Regions from separate parts of the Homo sapiens genome. Here all the other regions are linked to region 1. The links are contacts of gene promoters, found by promoter capture Hi-C in blood cells and fetal thymus (Javierre and others, 2016). All regions are on one chromosome and are shown on one strand. Each heading gives the region's core, a stretch centred on a gene start or on the middle of the fragment in contact. The rest is flanking DNA. Distances are from core to core; before and after follow the strand shown. Region 1 holds the start of BCL11A (BCL11 transcription factor A). Region 2 has its middle 300 kb from the start of VRK2. Region 3 has its middle 280 kb from the start of VRK2. Region 4 holds the start of FANCL (FA complementation group L).

The links. Contacts are between HindIII fragments. The CHiCAGO score rates a contact against its expected background, and 5 or more counts as called.
Region 2: a fragment that was not itself captured here is called in contact with the fragment with the promoter of BCL11A in region 1 in 8 of 17 cell types (naive CD8 T cells, activated CD4 T cells, non-activated CD4 T cells and 5 more); the score reaches 19.6 in naive CD8 T cells.
Region 3: a contact is called between a fragment that was not itself captured here and the fragment with the promoter of BCL11A in region 1, in 1 of 17 cell types (naive CD8 T cells). The highest score is 5.0, in naive CD8 T cells.
Region 4: the fragment with the promoter of FANCL here is called in contact with the fragment with the promoter of BCL11A in region 1 in 6 of 17 cell types (total CD8 T cells, erythroblasts, naive CD8 T cells and 3 more); the score reaches 9.3 in total CD8 T cells.

The regions. Positions count from the first base shown.
Region 1 is chr2:60,552,233-60,555,388 of GRCh38, forward strand. BCL11A (BCL11 transcription factor A) reads right to left here and starts at 1,422. Exons shown (of 4, transcript NM_022893.4): 1 at 984-1,422. The coding sequence starts at 1,038. RefSeq lists silencers at 133-492, 1,902-1,991, 2,932-3,061 and an enhancer at 2,682-2,731. The HindIII fragment of the contact is 6,342 bases long and covers 1-3,156 here.
Region 2 is chr2:57,743,898-57,747,053 of GRCh38, forward strand. No RefSeq gene overlaps it. Among named protein-coding and RNA genes, the nearest start is that of VRK2, 300 kb to the right of the region's middle. The HindIII fragment of the contact is 9,428 bases long and covers 1-3,156 here.
Region 3 is chr2:57,768,059-57,771,214 of GRCh38, forward strand. No RefSeq gene overlaps it. Among named protein-coding and RNA genes, the nearest start is that of VRK2, 280 kb to the right of the region's middle. The HindIII fragment of the contact is 1,053 bases long and covers 1,149-2,201 here.
Region 4 is chr2:58,239,760-58,242,915 of GRCh38, forward strand. FANCL (FA complementation group L) reads right to left here and starts at 1,566. Exons shown (of 14, transcript NM_018062.4): 1 at 1,459-1,566. The coding sequence starts at 1,554. RefSeq lists a silencer at 1,164-1,213 and an enhancer at 1,754-1,913. The HindIII fragment of the contact is 7,787 bases long and covers 1-3,156 here.

The DNA of each region.
Region 1 (3,156 bases), core at 172-2,671:
CTTGCCTTGTTTTATTTATTTTATTTTTATGTATTTATTTATTTATGTGCCAGTCTTCTCCTTGCTGCCTCTGAGGTTCGGTCGGGAGGGGAGGGCAGCGGCAACCCAGGAGGCAGCAGTCCGGGCTCCCTCCCTCCCTCTCCCGCGTGCCCCCGGCCGCCTCCTCCCCCGGCCCTAGCTCCTGCCCTTCGGCGGCGGCGGCGGCGGCGGCGCGGGAGGGCAAGCGCGAGGAGCCGGCACAAAAGGCAGCGGGACAAACACCCACCTCTGGCCGGAACAAAAGGCGGCAGTGCCGGCCGCGTCTCCCGTCCTTCCCGGTCCCACGGCTCTCCCCGTCGCCGCGGCCCCTCTCCCGACTCCGCGGACTCAGGAGCGCCGGGGGCCCCTTTCCACAGTGCCACTTTCTCACTATTGTGGGGATGACTACTTTCCTCCCGCTGCACACTTGACCGTGAGCGCGCTGGTGTCCAAAAGCCAGTCTCACCTCTTTTCTCCCCGGGAATCGTTTTTTAGACTTGTACTCACTCCCTCCCTACCCCCCCATTTTCTTACGGTGAGTGGGAAGCAACCTCCCTTTCCCCACCAGCTCCCACCCCCAGGTTTGCATGTGAGTTGTTCGCAACCTTAGCATTGTTCATTATTTTGCAAAACTGGCGGGGCGGGGGGGGAGTGGAATCATTGCATTCCTTTTCGAAAAGAGAAATAAAGCGGCGGAAAGGAGGAAAGAGGAGGAGTCAAATTTTTGTAAAATTAAATAAAATTAAAAGGTGCGTGCTGTCTCAAAAGTGCATACACGGCAATGGTTCCAGATGGGATGAGGGTTTTTTCCCCCTTTATCTCTTTTACCTCGACTCTCGGAGGTTTTTCTCGTGAAAAATTTAAAAATGCATGCACACACCCCTCTCTCCCCCTCGCTTTTGCTTCTAGTCCTGCGCGCTCTCGTGATTATTAATAATTATTATTACTATTATTGGGTTACTTACGCGAGAATTCCCGTTTGCTTAAGTGCTGGGGTTTGCCTTGCTTGCGGCGAGACATGGTGGGCTGCGGGGCGGGCGGCGGCGGCGGCGGCGGCGGCGGCGGGCGGACGACGGCTCGGTTCACATCGGGAGAGCCGGGTTAGAAAGAAGGAGACTCCAGAGAAAATATCTTCATCAGTGCCTTTTGACATCCAAAATAAATTAGAAATAATACAAAGATGGCGCAGGGAAGATGAATTGTGGGAGAGCCGTCATGGCTTTTTTTTAAGCAAAAAAAAAAAAAAAAAAAAAAAAAAAAAGAGGGAGAGAGAGAGAAGAGAGATAGAGGGAGAGAGAGAGAGAGAGATGAAAAAAATGGCAAAAGCCCCCCTGAGCTGCAAGTTCAAGTGCGGACGTGACGTCCCTGCGAACTTGAACGTCAGGAGTCTGGATGGACAGAGACACACAAAACATGGGCAGGGCGAGCAGGAGAGAAGGGGAGGAGGGAAGGGGAAGCTCACACCAATGGACACACATCAGGGGCTGGACATGAAAAAGAGACCAGGACAAGCCAATGGCCAGTGCGGGGAGGGGGAGGTGCGGGGCGGGGGGCTCCGCGGACGCCAGACGCGGCCCCCGGGGGAGGGGCGGGCCGAGGGGAGGGGGCGCTGGGGCCGCGGGCTCACCAGTGGCCGCAGCGAGCGCCGCGGCGGTGGCGTGGCCGGGAGAGAAGAAAGGGGTGGCAGGGGTGGGAGGAAAGGGTGGGGGGGAGCAAGACGTGCGCCCTGCTCCCCCCCACACACGCGGACTCTAAAATGAAAGATTATTCAAAAAAGAAAAAAATAGAGCGAGAGTGCACCGGGAGGCTGCAGCCCCGGGCTGGGGAAGCGCGGGCGGAGGGAAGCCAGGTAGAGTTGCTCCCGGACACCCTCCTCCGTACGCACACCCACTTCCCCTCCCCGCCGCCGCCGCGCTCGCTCCCCGCGTGTGGACGCCAGGGGCCGAAGTAAAAGCCCCGAGCCCGCGGCTGCGCTCGGGAAACTTTGCCCGAGGAGAGGACAGCAAAGAAAAATCACCCGAAGTTGAGAGCTGAGCCTCCAAGTTACAGCTCCGCAGCGGGCGAGGGGAGGTGGGAGGGAGCGCACGGCAACGCGGAATCCAGCCTAAGTTTGGAGGGCTGCGGGTCCGGAAGGGCAGCGCCCAAGTCTCCAGGAGCCCGCGCGGCCTGGAAAGAGGGGACCGGGGAGAGGCAGGCGGCGCAGGCCGGGGCCCGAGGGCGCCCCCAAGGCCGAGCCAGGGACCGGGAATCTGAGCGCCCCGCCAAGCGACTGGGTCTGAATGCAACTGAAAGCGCCGAGTCCCCGGCTCCTAAGGGTCGCAGAAAGAGAGCCCGAGGAATAAAGAACGAGGAGCCAGAGTCTGGCCCCCGGAGGGGAGCGCCGGGGGCCTGGGCAAGAGAGGCACCGAGGCGTCCACCTCTCTGAGAGGCCGAGGACAAAGCGCGGGCAGTCCCGGGAGTCCCAGTCCCTGGGAATGTGCTCACGGCGCCGCGGGAGGTCCCCGAGCCGGGTCCCTGGGAGGGACACACCCCCTCCCACTCCAGAGCAACTGCAAAAGCACAGAGGGATGGGAAGAAAATGTTTCTTACGGGCAGAGCACAACTGTTCCTGTGCTGTTACCCAGGGAAAGAGAAAATGGGAATGGAGAGAGAGCGACAGGCTCGCAGGAGCAGCGGGGAGACCACGGTGGTGAGATGACCGCCTCGGGTCACCGCCGCGCTCCCCAGGCGCCGCCGGCCAAGGCGCACACCCAGGAGCCAGCAGCCCCCTCTCGCCTTTCTGCAGACGTTCCCTGGAAATTAGGGAAGACCTGTTGGAAATAAAACCCTGTCTCTTTAATGCACACACGCACACACACGCGCGTGCTGCCGCTGTCAAAAAGCGGGCTTCACTCTGGCGTGGGATACTTTCAGTTTTACGTAAAATGTACAGCAACAGCACCCCCTGCGATTGGAAAGTTTATTCAGAAACGTGCCTGTAAAGTCCCCTGGCGCCTCCCGCCTCCCAGCCTCCCTGCCTGCCAGCACCACTCTGCAGCCGCCGCCGCCGCCGCCGGGGAGATCGCAGTCCGATTCCAAATCTGGAAGGAGTTGGGGGGAGAGGAGAATGGACTCAGGTCCAAGGGAGGTGCGGAGGGT
Region 2 (3,156 bases), core at 169-2,668, 2.8 Mb before region 1:
AGAAGGTCTTTGATAATGTAGCTGCCAATTGTGCTCTCTTGATTTGTAACTTTCTTTGAGGGCTTGGGGAACATGAGCTGTTTAAAGCACCTTTTTAAAAAGCTCCTAATTCCTTTCTGACTTTGACTATTCTCTTTTTCACCGAGGAACTGAATGGAACCTGTAACTCTGATTAAAATGAACTTAGACTATACAGAAGGCCTGCCTTACAATTATATATGTGCCAAGATTAAAACTCAGATATCTTGTAGTCAACAGTACCAGGCTAAGTGGTAGGTAATAGAACTTCCATTCAAAACTTTAGAAAAAAACAGAATGAGTATAGCCTTTACGGAGGGGTAGATAAAATACTTCAGAGGAGCAGATTTCTAACAGATAATTCTTTGCAGAAAAGTCACAACCATTCTAACACAACTAGCTATTTTAACAAACACTGGGGTGAGGAGTTTGCCACCTAAGTATTGCCCAAGACACATGACTGCATATTAGTGATGGTAGCAGATACATTTTTAATTAAATCTTCTTTTATTTAGAGCATTATGCAACACCTGGGTGACAGAGTGAGACTCCATGAAAAGAAAGAAAAGAAAAAGAAAGAAAGAGAGAAAGAGAGAGAGAGAGAAAGAGAGAAAGAGAGAGAGAAAGAGAAAGAAAAAAGAAAGAAAAAAAGAAAGAAGAAAGAAAGAGAAAGAAAGAAAGAAAGAAAGAAAGAAAGAAAGGAAGGAAGGAAGGAAGGAAGGAAGGAAGGAAGGAAGGAAGGAAGGAAGGAAGGAAGGAAGGAAGAAAGAAAAAGAAAGAGAGAAAGCAAGCAAGCAGGCAAGTTTTTCCAGGGTGTGGATATTTTCGGCCAATGAGTTGAACACTCTTAAATAATAGCTATGTAGGCAGTGATGGATGAAGTGAACAACTTTATTCTAAGAAGTCAACTCTTTCTTCATTTAATCTCAACCTCCATGTAGAATCACAAGATGTACCCTAAGAGCAGACTTTCCTGCCAGGCCTGTTAGGGTTGAGAAGTAACACTGCTCTGGTCCCACTGGGCATCCACTCTACACACCAGGAAATTTAATTTGTCCTAAAGTGAAATATTTCCCAGAAGAGAAAAACATTCACCTGGACATTTCTTTCCTTGCCATCCTCTTCTGCACTCATGATGTAATATTCATGGTTATAAGGGAATGGGGGGTGGGAAAATGACTTGTTTATAGAAAGTAAAAGAAAAGGTGTAATTAGAAGATGGTAAGCAACTCAAGTCTCAGTTACCTTGACCAGTTTGTGAGATCTGGGGGAAAAGAAGGTGCTTTGGAGATCTGCAGAAAGGTCAAAGGAAAATATGATGTGGGCAAGGGGTGAAGGGTATTTGAGACAAGCCAGGGAAGCAACATTTCAAATAGGCTTTTAAAATTCACTTGGGTTTGTACTATATGTCTCTTGAAAGAGTTAGAAGCCCAATATATAAAAAGCTGACTATTTATATATTTGATTCCTTAAAAGCAATGAGGAATACAAAGCAGATGGTCCAGCATTGTAGATTTCCCTTTTCATATTGCTTAAACACTAGAGATCAATAAGTCTAATATAAACAGATGATTTCCATAGCAGGGTTTATAATTAGCTGGCACTGAATGTGTCCAAACTCTAAAATAATTAGCAGAAGCATGTGGCACACCATTAAAACCTTGTGGCTTGTCTGCATTTACATTTATAATTATTAAAGTTAATTATGATGCTTGTGTTATGGTTCCAAGCTCCTTTACAACTTAGATTAAATATTTTTTTAATCCCATAACTTCATTTCTAACCTTCCTTGAGCCTCTGGAAAACAGTGAAATCATACAAAATAAGGAATGTATAGCTGCAGTTTTTTGCTCCAAAGGGTACTAGTCTGTCCTTATCATGAAAGATAGGCTCTTCTTAAAGAGCTGGCAGCTTTCTCAACTGATAACAATATTTCGATCTTGAATTTTAATTTGTTTGTAATGATGGGACAGGCAGAATAACACTGCTTACAAGTCTTTGGAGTGAAAGCTGTCATTTTTGAGAGCTAAATGAATGGCAAGTTAGTGTCAATATAGTCTCCTCAATTTATTATATAGTGAAAGAGAATTTAAAATAATATACATAATGGGCTTGGTTCAAGATCTAAAGATACTCTACATTATTTTAGAGTGCAGCTGATACTTCACAGGAAAGGAACAAACAGTTCACCTTTATTTTTAAAGTCCACATCCCCTGAAAAGGCTATTTAGCAAAGCCCTCCACTGTATTGGGAACCTTGGATACAACAAAACACGTAACACAGACTTTGCCTACTCAGCCAGAACAATGACAGTCTTAGTCTCACCAACAGTCATACTAACCACAAGAGCATATTTCTTTAAAATTTGCCTCAAGAAATATGATGACATATTTTTGGTGACCTTATACTCAGGTGTCATTTATTGTCATTGCAACAACTGGCCAGTGTTCTTAACATAAATCTCATTAAATCTGGAAATTTTTTCATCTTTGGTCAAGAACATTTTAAGAAATTTATATTCTATATCCTATCTAATACACCAGGCCATATTTAAAGACACAGTTCTTAACATATTTACAAGTCAGGAAATCAGAAAAGGAACATTAAATACCTTATTTGTCAGATCTGCTCATGTATATCTCTGTTACTATATTCAAGTTATCTGTAATCAATAAGTGTAACAAATGTGCTTTCTTTATAAAAGAGTCCATTGACTTATATAGTTTAATGTGATTTATTAATATTTATTTTCTGGTTCTTTCCGTTCGCTAGAATTTTGCGTAAGTACCATACACAGTTGGCATCCTACAAAACAAAAACAAAACAAAAAAATCCCTGTTTTTAGCTACTGTGCTTTTCAGATCATTTCTACTCAATTTTTACATGAGTTTAAATACAGTACACTCATTTATCTGCAAACTGTAAAAGACATAGCTATAAAATATCTAACTTCCAGTCTCATTTTTACCACATAGCTGAGAGAGATTTTAATAAAAATGACCATTTTTTTATAATAAAGAAAAATCTTTTGTTTCATCACTTCTCCTGTTGCATCACTTACAGGTAAAAAAATTAAAATATACTTTACTCAAGCTATTAAGATTAGAATGAAATTCATGTTAATTTCATTGCTAATG
Region 3 (3,156 bases), core at 425-2,924, 2.8 Mb before region 1:
GCTTCCACTCTCATTGCCCATTAATCTTACACATTCTATATGTAAGTATAGAAAAACTCAGTCTCTTTGGCATTTGGAATATTCCAATAATGGACATAATTAGAAATAAAAAGGTAAAGTAACTTCAGGGTGGCCACATAACAATTTTCTTCTTCTTATTATTATTATCTTGAGACAGAGTCTTGCTCTGTCACCCAGGCTAGACTGCAGTGGCGTGATCTCAGGTCACTGCAACCTCTGCCTCCCGGGTTCAAGCAATTCTGCTGCCTCAGCCTCCCAAGTAGCTGGGACTACAGGCATGTGCCACCACATCCAGCTAGTTTTTGTATTTTTAGTGGAGATTGGGTTTCACCATGTTGGCCACGCTGGTCAATTTTCAAAAACTACAAACACATACAATAGATGTACCACTCAGATTTCTCAATGGAGACTTCTTGAAATTTTGAATTACAAGAAATCTCTCCCATTATTGAGAATGATTACTCATGATTTTTTAAATCCATGAAGTGAACAGATGCTGTTTGCACATTTTTATAGAATTATTAGAATAGAGATAAATAAATTGATTGGTCAAGGGATTGCATCCTTTATATTGGAATAAAGACTATAATTAAAGGGAAGTCTATGTTAAGGGTCATGACAATCAAAATAGTATCTCAATACATTTTGGAAACAAAACAAACAGGACTGTCAGTATGATGCTAGTACACTCTTATATGAATATCATGATTCTTTCTGAAGCACATTGGTAGAAGTGCCAAGATTTCAATACTTAATGTATTCTAAAACAGTACAGATTAAAATATATTAATATTTTAAAGATTACATATAATATGTGTGTGTGCATGTGCGTGTGTGTGTGCATGTTCCTCTGGAAGTAGGGAGTAAAGGCTATGCCTTGTTTTCCCAAATAGCTTACTTTGTGCCTGTGTTTTCAGGTCTTACTCTTTCAATTCACAGATGAATAAGCACTAGAGTTTAAGAGTGGAAGGGTGCAACACACCAATACCAATCTGGGCCACACTTACCATTATATCTATATCCATGTAAAATGTTTTAAAGTCCATCTTATTTGAAAAAAATTAAAGGATCTATTTTGAGACTGTTTACCAAGTTGATATCCTGGCACATAACAGGTGTTCAACAAAAGCTTATGGAGCAAGGAAATGAACATGCCAACCCCAAAGAGTCACCTCTTCATTGAAATGCTCACCTATTTAGGTTGCATTCTTCCTTTCCTGGACCCTCCCTTTAACAGCTAACTCATCTTTCTTATCAGTTAGTGAATTCCACTCTAGACTTTACTACACGTTTCTTAATAAATAGTCCTCGAAGTAAAAAACAAAAAACAACTAGCTGACAAAGTAACCCAAATGGTGGTATCAAAGGATCTGTGGAGTTCATCTGGAATAAGAATATAGAGCCAGGTGACCCTTAGCCACCCCAGATGTCATCTCTTGTGCTCTACCGTGCTGAAAGCTGCACCTAGCAGGGAGAGTCAAGAGGAAAGTGATGCCATCGCTGTAGCAGGCAATGTAGCAGGTTTAGGTATCTCTTACCAATTCCTTTCTTTCTAAGTAAAATAATTTTTAAGTTTCAAACTTTATTTTAATGAAAATATTTTGGAAACTGGATAACAAGTACCAGAATAATAGATTATATAATTTTTAGTTTTATAGTATGGTAATAGCAAAATGTTTTAGCAGTATACTTTGACGAAATAAACACCCTAGTAAAAGGGTCAGATTGCTAAATGGTACAAGGAGGTCTAGTGGAAGCCCAAATGCCCTTGGCTTGATTTTCAGCTCCAGCAGTTACATGCTGCAAACTGTGTCTCTGTTTCCTTACCTCTAAAGCAGACATACAAGTCAACCTCAAAAGTCTGTACTGAGAATTCTAAAGGTAATATATATAGCTTAATCTAGGTATCCTGCAAATGTTAGACTCCTTTTCCTTGACCCTCTCTCATGCAGCACACACACACACACACACACACACACACACACACACACAGTGCACTTCATTTTCTTCTTAAACAAGATACAAATAATGAAACTAATTTCCCTTGACTTTTCCAGCGAAGTTATGGTAATATATTATTTATAATACATAACCACAAAATAGTATATGCTTTGTCCACATGTTGAAACTTTACTTCTATAGAACACATAAAATGTAAGTTTTCATCATTTAGGGAGAAAAGCTTTCTAAACCACATTTTTTCTTTCCCTAATTTTTAATGATATTATAAATCTGATAAAATGTATGCGTACTTATTGCAGAAATTTGAAAAATATACAAAAAAGCACAAAGAAAACAAATGAAAGTAATTAATTCCCTAACTCAGAAACCATTATTACTAATCTTGATTTCCTTTCTATGCATTTGAATTGGATTATCCACTACATCCTGTTTTGTAACCTTTTTACACTTATTAATGTTCTATGAATATTTTGAATGCTTAAGTATTTTTAAACATTCTATATAATATAAATATCATTTTAATGGCTGCATATTATTTTATCTTGTGGTTATACCACAAATTGTTTAATCAAAGCCATATTGTTGGACATTTGAGGTTGTTGCTGTGGCCATTGTTTTTAAGCAATACTGTTAGAATAAACTGCTATGTACCCATCCATGACCCAGCTTCAACAATTATCACCTCATGGTCAGTCTTGTTTTATCTGTACCCTTACGAATTCCCCATACCAACCTCAGATTATTTTGAAACAAATCCACTCATTATTTCATCTGCACATATTTCACTGTGTGCCTTTAAATTAGACAGTGTTAAAAATCCTTCATCTTTACCCCTTCTTTCTCCTTCTTCCCTTTCCTTCCTCAGACTGTTAATATCAACATCCAAATAAGATCCATACACTGCAAATAGTTAAGAGGTTCCTTTCTGTGTTTTTCCCCTTGCAATTTATTTGTCAGCAAAAACACGAAGAAAAACAAACAAAAATAGGCCAATGAACCTATAGTATTTCCCATGTTTTGGATCAGTGTCATTTACCATGCTCCTCTATCAACTGTACTTCCTAGAAATAGAGTCTTAGATAAGGAATTTTGTCCAAATTTTGGTTCTACGTTTTGGCAAGAATATTTCATAGATGGTATGGTATACTACCCTCAGGTGGTACATAATACAGG
Region 4 (3,156 bases), core at 316-2,815, 2.3 Mb before region 1:
TATACACACCCACCCACATACATATACTTAACAATGATCAGTAAAATGGAGAAAATGTAAACTGGTGAATCTAGGTAAAGGGTATACTGGAATTACTTGTACTGTATATCCTTGCTACTTTTCTGTAAATTTAAAATATATACAAAATATTTTTAGACACGTAAAATGTTTAAGATTTAAATAAACTGCTAAGGCAGGTACAAATTGGAATTCTAGCTATAGCAATGGTCATAAAAGAAACTTTCATCTAATCTCAATTCTAATGGGTGTACTTGTTTCCTAAAAGGCCTTAGCAGATATAGACATACATAACAGTATTTTGCCTAAAATTAGGTATAACATGCTTCCTGTAAAAAAAAAAAAAAAAAAGTAACTTAAAATTTTTCAACTTTTCTAAATGTTGTCTACAAGAGAATCATATTTTCAGCTAGGTAATTCAAGAAGAATACTTCTAATTGGAGAGGGAAAGGTGGATTAACTTTTTTCCATATGGAATAATGAATTTTTAACCTCTACTTTCTGTGATGGTCATATGGTAATTCCACATATACTCAAAGACTATGCGTGATGGTGGGGAAGTGGGCACAAGGTTGAGTGTAATGGTCAGAAAGGAAAAGTCTACACTCCTAACCTAAGGTATCCTGGTGCAATGTAAAGAGAAAAAAATCCAGGACTGAAATCACACAGCCTGCGTTTAAGGGATTCTGATGTGATCATCAGCAAATAACGTCTCCGGTTTCCCATACCTTGATTTCTTCAACTAGAAAATGGGAATGATGATTCTTTTAAAAATTTCTGCCTCAAAGGGCTGAGGATTAAGTGAACTATTTACCTGGAAAGCGCTTTGTAAACTTCAAAACCCTACACATGTGTTAGTATGTGTAATAAACTCCATATGAGAGGCCACTGGAATCAGCAAAGTTAATTAATTCCATTGCTGTCATGCTTCTCCTAGAAGATATTGTAACTGTGGGTGTACAGGTACATACGACTTGGCAAAGGGCCAAAATAAGGTTTTCTTCCCAAATGTTCTTTCTACAGGAAACACGAAAATAATTAGCCCAGATTCCCGAGTGAACTCATCAACATCCGTGGAGGTGGAGGGTGTTAAAATCGAGTTAAGGCAAAATTTACAAAAAAAAAATTAAAAAACAGTCAATTGCGGGACACTGAACGAAGAAGGAAGCCAAACTCGGGGAAGGGCTAGGGAGAGAGGAGGCGTGGCCCCAGCCCCGCTCCACGCCGCGCGCCTCCTCGCTCCCCATCCAGCGCGGCGACCACCGGGGTGGCGGCGACAGCGGCGCTTCTCAAACCTTTAGTCTCCCAAGAGCCGTTACGCGCCGCCCCTCTCAATCCCCACAAGTCTGGGCCCCTAACCTCCTAGCCCGTCACAGACTTCTCCGCGCAGCTACGCTGCAAGAGGCTCTCTTAGCTAGAAAGCAACCACTGGGCGGGTACCTGAGCCGAGATGAATCCCTCATACACGGTTTTCGACCGGTTCTGGGGCAGAAGCAGGGGGCACTGGCGCAACAGGCTCGCTTCCGTCACCGCCATGGCTCGAAGTCCGGAGAAACACAGAAAAGCTCTAGACCTGCTGGGTCCTGCACATGCGCAGTCCGCTGGCGCTCGGACGCCGCGGAGCGGAAACCCCAGCCTTGGCGGGAAGATCCTGGAGGATTCCGCGGGCGGAAATGAAGGTGAAGCGCAGGCCAGGCCAAGTGGCGCTCTGCGGGAGGCGACATCAGGGCTCCCCAACCGGTAGTGGGAGGGAAGATTGCCCTCAAGTCCACAGGACTGACTGACCAAGATCATTCTAGCCTCAATTGTCCCAGGAGCCCTTTCGATGATTCTGTTTTACTTTATTGAAAGACTGTTACAACTTTGGTGTTGCATTTCCTCCAGAATAAAATGACTTTTACAGCCTGGACGTTGTAGCACTCTGTCTTCTTTGCTGTTGTCCTCTCTCCCTTAACATACAGAATAATGTATTATTTTGTGTATAATTATTGTAATATAATGTATAACACATTGATTATATCATATATATTACAGTTCTGTGGCTTACTAAGTTCAATCAGATATATTTGAGGCACACACATGTATACGTATATGTGTATTGATTAGACTCAAGTCAACACTGGACTCAGTTCTGTGTACGGCACTCACAAATATATAAAGCAAAACATGAGTAAAGATTGCTGATGGACTTGAACTTAATTTTCCTCTGACAGCGCTTGCAATATGTTTTTCTAACTCAGGAATGTTATCCATCCCATCTTATTAAGAGTTGATTAAATAAGAAACCTACTAAAATATTTACCATATGATTATTTGATTTTCCAATTTTCCAATTTTCCAATGCATCACGTTTGAGCCCTACTATTTGAAAAACATCATTGTAATGTGCCAAAGGTTGAGCAAAGATTATTTCGTCCCCTACCCATCTTTATTGACCTCAAGACAGAATTTGACATCCTGAAGATTCTTAAAGTTTGACAAGAATTTGTCACAGCATTCTGGATGCTTACAGAAAAGAATGCTGGAGCAGTGGTTAGATATAAATTACATTAAAGCAGTGGTTCTCAAAACGTGATCCTAGAACCTAGCAACAGCATCACCTGGGAACTATGTAGAAATACAAGTTTTCACCGCTGATGGGGTTCAGGATATGCTACCCCAAAATATGGCCCCTTGACATTTGAGAAAACAACAAAACCTAAGATCACTCTCTGACCTTCTCCCATCCTTCTTCCCTGAGGCGGGTCATTGGATCCTCAATCCAGAGGTGCTCTTCCTATACCCACAGGAAAGAAATATCCTTATCTCTAAAGAAACGGAGACATAGAAAAGAATCTGAACAAAAAGACCTTTGACAACTTACCCCAGTTTATTACCATTAGACCATGCTTTGTCCAACCGTACTTCCCCACAACTGTCCACTGTTCCTTCTAAAAATGCACAGGTTTTCCTGTTTCTTTGGGCTTCATCTCTGAAGGCTCCCATGCCACATAAAACTTAAATAAATTTGCACGCTTTTCTCTTATTAATCTGTCTTTTCTTATAAGGGACTCAAACAGGAATCTAGCAACAGGAAAGAAAGATGTTTCTCATTCCCTACAGGCCCCTATTTCAAACCTCGGGAATCCCAAACACTGG